Regions from separate parts of the Homo sapiens genome. Here region 1 is linked to region 2. The links are contacts of gene promoters, found by promoter capture Hi-C in human tissues and cell types (Jung and others, 2019). All regions are on one chromosome and are shown on one strand. Each heading gives the region's core, a stretch centred on a gene start or on the middle of the fragment in contact. The rest is flanking DNA. Distances are from core to core; before and after follow the strand shown. Region 1 overlaps ZNF713 (zinc finger protein 713). Region 2 holds the start of LANCL2 (LanC like glutathione S-transferase 2).

What was found. Contacts are between HindIII fragments. The study calls those that stand out against the background at their distance.
Region 1: a fragment that was not itself captured here is called in contact with the fragment with the promoter of LANCL2 in region 2 in 1 of the 25 tissues and cell types used here (dorsolateral prefrontal cortex).

What each region holds. Positions count from the first base shown.
Region 1 is chr7:55,940,342-55,944,409 of GRCh38, reverse strand. It overlaps ZNF713 (zinc finger protein 713), which reads right to left. Exons shown (of 7, transcript NM_182633.3): 7 at 2,185-4,068. Among named protein-coding and RNA genes, the nearest start is that of MRPS17, 9.5 kb to the left of the region's middle. The HindIII fragment of the contact is 5,643 bases long and covers 1-4,068 here.
Region 2 is chr7:55,362,361-55,366,677 of GRCh38, reverse strand. LANCL2 (LanC like glutathione S-transferase 2) reads right to left here and starts at 1,341. Exons shown (of 9, transcript NM_018697.4): 1 at 449-1,341. The coding sequence starts at 652. RefSeq lists enhancers at 1-116, 147-606, 1,227-1,416 and a silencer at 737-1,156. The HindIII fragment of the contact is 20,479 bases long and covers 1-4,317 here.

The sequences.
Region 1 (4,068 bases), core at 425-2,924, 580 kb before region 2:
GTAATCTCAACTCTTTGGGAGGCTGAGGCGGGTGGATCACCTGAGGTTAGGTGTTCGAGACCAGCCTGACCAATAGAGTGAAACACTGTCTCTATTATAAATACAAAAATTAGCCAGGCGTGGTGGCGCGCACCTGTAATCCCAGATACTCGGGAGACTGAGACAGGAGAATTGCTTGAACCTGGGAGGCGGAGGTTGCAGTAAGCCAAGATCAAGCCACTGCACCTCAGCCTGGGTGACAGAGCGAGACTCTGTCTCAAAAAAACAAACAAAAAACAGAAAAAAACATCAAATGTGACTTCTGTCAAACAAGGCAGCAATCATAAAAATCAAATGAAATCACCTTAAATTCTGATATATTATACTTTGGATATTTGTCTCTTCCAATCTCAGGTTGAAATGTGATCCCCAATGTTGGAGGTGGGGCCTGGTGGGAGGTGTTTGGGCCATGGGGGTGGATCCCTCATGAATGGCTTGGTGTCCTCCTGTGTTATTGAATGAGTTCTTGTAGGGAAAAGAAAGAGAGATCAGACTGTTACTGTGTCTATGTAGAAAGGGAAGACATAAGAGACTCCATTTTGAAAAAGACCTGTACTTTGAATAATTGCTTTGCTGAGATGTTGTTAATTTGTAGCTTTGCCCCAGCCACTTTGACCCAACCACTTTGATCCAATCTGGAGCTCACAAAAACGTGTTGTATGAAATCAAGGTTTAAGGGATCTAGTGCTGTGCAGGACGTGCTTTGTTAACAAAATGTTTACAAGCAGTATACTTGGTAAAAGTCATTGCCATTCTCTAGTCTCAATAAACCAGGGGTACAATGCACTGCAGAAAGCCACAGGGACCTCTGCCCTTGAAAGCGGGGTATTGTCCAAGGTTTCTCCCCATGTGATAGTCTGAAATACGGCCTCGTGGGATGAGAAAGACCTGACCGTCCCCCAGCCCGACACCCGTAAAGGGTCTGTGCTGAGGTGAATTAGTAAAAGAGGGAGCCTCTTGCAGCTGAGATAGAGGAAGGCCACTGTCTCCTGCCTGCCCCTGGGAACTGAATGTCTCGGTATAAAACCGGATTGTACATTTGTTCAATTCTGAGATAGGAGAAAAACCGCCCGATGGTGGGAGGCGAGACATGTTTGCAGCAATGCTGCCTTGTTATTCTTTACACCACTGTGATGTTTCGGTGGAGAGAAACAAATCTGGCTTACGTGCACGTCCAGTCATAGTACCTTCCCTTGAACTTAATTATGACATAGATTCTATTGCTCACATGTTTTTCTCCTTATTATCACCATGCCCTCCTACATTCCTTTTTGCTGCAATAATGAAGATAATAATCAATAAAAACTGAGGGAACTCAGAGACTAGTGCCGGTGCAGATCCTTGGTATGCTGAGCGCCGGTCCCCTGGACCCACTGTTGTTTCTCTATACTTTGTCTCTGTGTCTTCTTTCCTTTCTCAGTCTCTCATCTCACCTGACTAGAAATACTCACGGGTGTGGAGGGGAAGGCCACCCCTTCAAGTTCTCACTCTGGTAGTTCATGTGAGAGCTGAGTGTTTAAGAGGTTGCAACCTCCCCCATCTCTCTTGACCCCTCTATTGTCATGTAATATGCTGGCTCCCATTGACCTTCCGCCATAATTGGAAGCGTTCTGAGGCCATCAACAGAAGCAGACACCAGCACCGTATTTCCTGCACAGCCTGCAGAACTGTGAGCCAAATAAAGCTTCTTTTCTTTATAAACTACCCAGTTTCAGGTATTCCTTTATAGCAATGCAAACAAACTAATATGAATTCTTTTTGGAAAAAAGTGTTACAGATATATATTTCTTTTTTCTTTCTCTCTTTTTTTTTTTTTTTTTTTGAGATGGAGTCTCGCTCTATTGCCCAGGCTGGAGTGCAGTGGTGCAGTCTCGGCTCACTGCAACCTCCGCCTCCCAGGTTCAAGCAATTCTTCTGCCTCAGCCTCCTGAGTAGCTGGGGTTACAGGTGCACACCATCATGCCCAGCTAATTTTTGTATTTTTAGTAGAGACGCAGTTTTACCATATTGGCCAGGCTGGTCTTGAACTCCTAACCTCAAGTGATCCACCTGCCTTGCCCTCCCAAAGTGCTGGGATTACAGATGTGAGCCACCGTGCCCAGCCCAGATATATATTTCAATAAATAAAATAAATGATTAAGCCAATTAGACTACTTCGTCAGGTGTTTATATAAGCCACTGCAGCTCTCCTGATTCCCACCCTCAACATGGCACCAGGGCTCACCCGCAGGTACAGTTCCTCACTTCTCCATCTTCCACAGTGATACGGGGTGGCATGGGAATTCTTAGTCTCTGGTCATTATTTTACAAAATCCCAAAACTTCTGTTCTACAAATACAGCAGAAATAATTTTAACTGAAAAAAAATCTAGACTTGCCACAGGGAAATTTAAAGCTAAAACAAAATAGAAAAGCAGACTTCTCTGAATCAATATTTCAAAGTTCATCAATAGGACCCTCAAGTCTTCTTCAAGGCTCTTCTCAAAGTGATCCTAGGATTCATTTGATGAAAATAATGTCAAGATTGCAAAAAGAATCATCACAGGATATTGCCACAAACTATCACACTGTTTCTCAAACAACGGCACACAAGATTTTTGGGGGGACATCAACGAATATTTTTAATTTCAAGGTTATGTATCTATTTTGATGAAGAGTAGAATAAATTTAATTAGCATATAAAACTAGCATATAACTTATTTTATATGCTAAATAGTATTTCCTAGGAGAAGGCTAAAAATCTTGCATCCCTTTATAAAGAATATTAAGTAAATACTAGATATGGTAAAAACTGTAAAGAAAGCATACAAATAACTGACGTTCGTGAAATATTCCTCTTTTATGTTTATTTCAAGTTAATGTGACTGGCTGCACTACAGCATCGCCTTTATTTTTAAATTTTACTTTTTTTTTTTTTTGAGACAGTCTCACTCTGTTGCCCAGGCTGGAGTACAGTGGCGTGATCTTGGCTCACTGCAACCTCCACCTACCGGGTTCAAGCAATTCTTCTGCCTCAGCCTCCCAAGCTGCTGAGACTACAGGCGTGCACCACCATACCCAGCTAATTTTTGTATTTTTAGTAGAGATGGGGTTTTACCATGTTGGCCAGGCTGGTCTCAAACTCCTGGCCTCAGATGATCACCCCACCTCGGCCTCCCAAAGTGCTGGGATTATAGGCGTGAACCACCGCCCCCAGCCAGCATTGTCTTTAATTAATCAAAATTTCTGATTTAAAAGTTTTATACCATAACCTGCCAGGTGCAGTTGCTCACGCCTATAATCCCAGCACTTTGGGAGGCCGAGGCGGGCAGATCACAAGGTCAGGAGTTCGAGACCAGCCTAGTCAATATGGTGAAACCGTGTCTCTACTAAAAAATACAAAAAAAAAGTTAGCCAGGCGTGGTGGTACGCACCTGTAGTCCCAGCTACTCGGGAGGCTGAAGCAGAAGAATCGCTGGAACCCAGGAGGTGGAGGTTGCTGTGAGCCGAGATCGCGCCATTGCACTCCAGCCTGGGTGGCAGAGCGAGACTCTGCCTCAAAAAAAAAAAAAAAAAAAAGTTTTATACCATAAAACTTACAGGTGAGTAATTACAAGTTGTTGCCTATAGGCTTTCTTTCTTTTTTTTTTTTGAGACAGAGTCTTGCTCTGTTGCCCAGGCTGGAGTACAGTGGCATGATCTCAGCTCACAGCAACCTCCACCTCCCATGTTCAAGTCATTCTCATGCCTCAGTCTCCAGAGTAGCTGGGATTGCAGGTGTGCACCACCATGCCTGGATAAGGACTTCTGATTTTTTAAAAAGTTTTATATCAGATTTGGAACATGACTCCAAATATAATCTCATTTGTAAAATAAATTATTTTTTCTTTTTATAACCCCTCCTGGGAATGTAATATGCTGCTAGTTTAAGGTCTAAATTAATTTGGTTTCTACGCATTGAAAGTTTATGGCCAGGCGCAGTGGCCCACGCCTGTAATCCCAGCACTTTGGGAGGCCGAGGTGGGCGGATCACCTGAGGTTAGGAGTTCGA
Region 2 (4,317 bases), core at 92-2,591:
ACAGACAGTACGGACAATGCTTCTTTGTCGGCGAGAGCCCAGGGACCAGATATGGCCAAGGAAATCCAGCCTCCAGGCCACTTCTGAGGAGCAGGTAGCCGGCGGAGCGCTCCGCCGCGCAGGGGCGGGAGGTGTCCGCGGGCCTCACGAGTGCACAAGCCCGCATTGCGAAGCGCCGCTCGGGCCAAGAAGGAAAGCGCACTGTCCGCGTATTTCAAAGGCGCGTTGGGGCCAGGAGGGCCGAACTGCTGGAACGTGGTTCATGCAGCTGAAGCCCACGGACCCTAAGCGCGGCTCATCGGGAAGGCCCGGAGACAGGTGCTAGGCGCTATCATCCCGCGCCCTCCCAAGCCCGGCGCGCGCCTGTGACGTCACGCCTGGCGGAAGGTGGACGCTACCACCGCCGCGCTCCCCCTCCGGCGCCTCTGCGGCCAGGCCGCCGACTCACCTTCCCGTCCTGATGAAAAGGGAGGCCGGGCTCATCCGTGGTCGCCGGGGGACGAACACAGCCTGTCTCTTCGGCCGCTCCGGAGGCGAGCAGCGCCCCGGCGGCGGCCTCGTAGTCCGGGAAGGGGTTGACGAACGCCCGTTCCTCCATTTCTGCCTCCCCTCCCAGGTGGAGCTTCAGCCTCTTTGACATGGTCTCGCCCATCTCCGCCGCGGTACGGCGCGCGGGCGGGGACAAACCTCCTGTCCCGGCGCTGCAGCTCGCCCCGCCGCCGCCTCCTCCGAGGGCCCGCGCAGAGAGCGTCCTCTAGGAGGAGCGAGGCCGCGCGCTGGCGGGAGGAGCGGGGCGTCTGAGCGTGCACTGCCTCGTCGCGGGCTGCTCGCACATCAGGCGGCCGCAGAGGCGGTGGGCGCTGTGCCTCTGCCCTGTTCCTGGCGCCTTTGCCCTGCTCCCGACGGAGAGGAGCGGGCTCGCGGGAGCGCCCAGCGGCTCACAGCCTGCTCGCGCCTCCTCGCACCTTCCCCGTGGCCCGCAGAGCCCGTCCGCGGCGACGCGCACGGCCGGGGCTGGAGTCCCGGGGTGGGGATCGCTGCGCCCGGCCAGCCCCCTCCGCGATTTCCAAAGAAAACCGAACGCCCGCTAGGGCCACGCTCCCGCGGGGAAAACCTGTAGAGAAGAGGTCGCTGTCACTCAAGGTGTGTGCGCGTCGCCGACCGGGGCGAGCTCAGCCCCTGGCGCGCCGTCGTCAGCCTGCATTTCACCGGCCCCTGCTGCGCCAGCCCAAAGGAATAGCAGCAGTTCTTTGTTTGATATTAAGAAGAAAAAAAAAATCTCTTCTAAAGAACAGAATTTCAAAACAGTCTAAAACACTGCAAGGCTAGTCTCCGAGGGATGGGGGAGGGAGACAGTCCCTCCTATTCATCACTGTTGGAGGGGGGTGTCTGGGAGGAGGAGCCACAGGCCTTTTTTTTTTTCTTTTTATGTTTTATGTTCACTCCCTTTGTTTTGAATAAATGGACATCTTTGATACCGGGACATAAAATGAAAGCATACTTAATTATCCAAACATTTTATCGACCAGAAAGAGTCCTCCAGTGTTAATTGGCAAAGATCATAGTATGTATTATAAAAAGGACACAAGCAACCAGATCTTTACATTTATGTAATCGTGATGTGGTTTACTTCAGTCTTCATTGGTTCTCTTTATTTTTATTTGTTTGGACCAAATACGTGTAATGATTTCTGCTCCTTGAGGAAAATGTCTTATTTCCGTTTTCTTCCGCTCAGTAAACGTTGATTGAGCACCAAATGGTACTAGGTGATGAAGAAATAAGAGATTAAAAAGATAGTTTTGGCTCTCTGGGGATTCCCAGTTATTGGGTGAGAAAAGCAAGGATTACAGCATAGCTGATGTAGGTGCTTTTCTGGAAGCAAGCAAAAATACACGTTAATGTAAAAAGTGACATGATGAAGAAAAACACAGTGCCGAGCACAGGGAAGGCTCGGTTCCTCCTGCCTCCGTGGCCTCGGTGGAATGATGTGGGAAAGTCTGGCTTCCCACTACCTCTTCTAGTGTCCCCCCAACCCCACAGGGCTGGACATGTGAAACACACCCCACCAAGAACATGACCATGGGAAGGTACAGTGTAGAAGAAAATCATTTTAAAGGGGGTACTCAGCATAACTATCTTCAAAGTTCAGGGAAACAGAACAGATACAACAGGATGAGTGTTATAGCAGCATCCCTTAGCTCCACTTTCCTGCTTTCCCCTTTCCTGGGGTCTTTTCTCCCACCAAATTTTCATACCTAGACGGTGTAGGAAAATCCACTCCAGGAACTACTGATGCCGACATGCTCTAGGAGCCATCCTTATCCCACCACAGGGACTTAACTAGACAAAATAACCCACGGTGATATTCCCCAAAGTCTGGGGAACTATCACGCCTTGGACAGGTACAGCAGAAACGTCCACTGCGGGCTTTGTTAGGCTAAGCCTAGTGAATTCTCAGCTCTCCCTACCCAGGAGGGAGGTGAAGATTGTCTCTTCTTCCTGCAGTCTGCTGGTGGATAACTGGCAACTGTTGGCAAGTACAGAAACCTGTCCTAAAGAAAACCAATATTTTCAAAAGCTGAAAAATCGAAACCCAATTTAAGGAGTCGGCATATTTTCCTAAATGCTCTCTTATCGGCAGATCCCCTGCCCTCCTGGACAGCTCACTGACACTATTTTATGGAGAAGTGGTAGGTTCCCTTTCTTCAGCCTCCTGTCCCCTGGGGGTTTTTTAATGCAGAGCACAGGGGATTCCCTTCTGCGGCCCTTTTACACCCAGGGCTATCTTCCCCCGTGGCCACTCTTGAGCTCTTGAGTAGTACAGAGACCTTGGTCAGTGCCTTGAAATTACAACTTTATTTTCCTTAGGACAAGCCAAATTCTTAGGACACCCTCCCCACTCTTCTGTGTAAGAGAAGGGCAAGAGGACATACATGCCGGCCCAAAGCACACCCAAGGAGTCGTGAGGGCCCCTGGCAACTGACCTTTCAAAGGAAGACATAGTCCAAGGACACGATGTGCGAGAGGGCGGCATTGTGGCACCACGTTGAGATCTGGGGGGGCACTGGGCGGAGCAGCACCTGGGGAAGCCGCCGGGTGCGGTGCTTGGGTCACGGCCCTCCGGGGAGGCCACCGGGTGCGGTGCGGGGCAGGGCCCTACGGGGTGGCCGGCGGGTGCAGAAGTTGCTACCAGGGGAGGGTGTGCTCATCCTTGAAGATCTGAGTCAAAATAGGCAGTGTCATCCTCTTCCATTCCCCAGCACCTAACGTGGCTGCCCCAAAAGCCGCTGAGCTTGAGCTCCCTTCTAAAGCCAAAGCAGGCAGCAAGGCGGAGAGGAACCCCGGAGGTGGGAGGTCACTGGGGGGCGGGGAGGGTGGTTTCGGGGCACAGGGCAGCGGTGACTGCCCGCAGGGGCAAGCCCGGGCTCCCCGCCTGCGGCGGCTCCCCACCAAGTGGGGCCTGAGACAGGAGGAGCTGAGGTGGGGGCGCCTCCCTGAGAAACGCCACTTCTTATCTGGAGCGCCCCAAAGGTGAGAGGAAGACGATGGAAAACCTGGGGCACGAGGGCTCTCACTGTGGGGTTCAGCCATCGCCGAGCCCTGAGGCCCCGCAGACAGCCCCGGCTCTCCTCTTTACCCCAGAGTCAGGTACCAGCCTCTGGCCCGGGAACCAAGCCTCAGGTGCTTGCAGGGCTAGAATGTGTGGTTCTGAGAACTGCGTGGTGCTGGGTCAGAACCACGTGGGGCCTGTATTATGTATTTCAAAACTTCACGCTTCCCTGCAGCCTCAACACGGAAAACAGGCAGTGAGCCCCCCTCTCCCCCACCCCGCCCAGGTGACCAGATGCCCCAGTGTGGTGAGCTGGCCCTGCCACAGTTCCCCTTCCTGCCCTCCCGGACTGTGACCTAGTGACAGAGATTCTTTGTTCTACCAAACTAGTCAGGTTCCTGAATCTCCTCCAAGGCCCATCTGCACACTTCCTTATAAAATCCAGTTTTAGCAAACAGCCTTGCTAAGTCACTTTAGGAAGAACCACCCCCTAATATGTGATCACCCCCATTATTTGACCAGGTTCCCTATCCCTCACTATCCCCTAGGTGATGTTGGATCAACCTGGCCTGTGTTCAGCAAGAAGCCTATTAGGTAAGATTAGTCAGTACCCACCTTCCCCTTCATGTTATCTCTTAGTAATTTTCCATCCAGTCACCCCCACCTTGCTTCTTGGCTATCCATTTCCACTTGTATTGGGAATTAAGCTCAATCTTTCTCCCACACTGCAAAATCCCATCGTGGTGGTCCCCATACCGTTAAGGTCT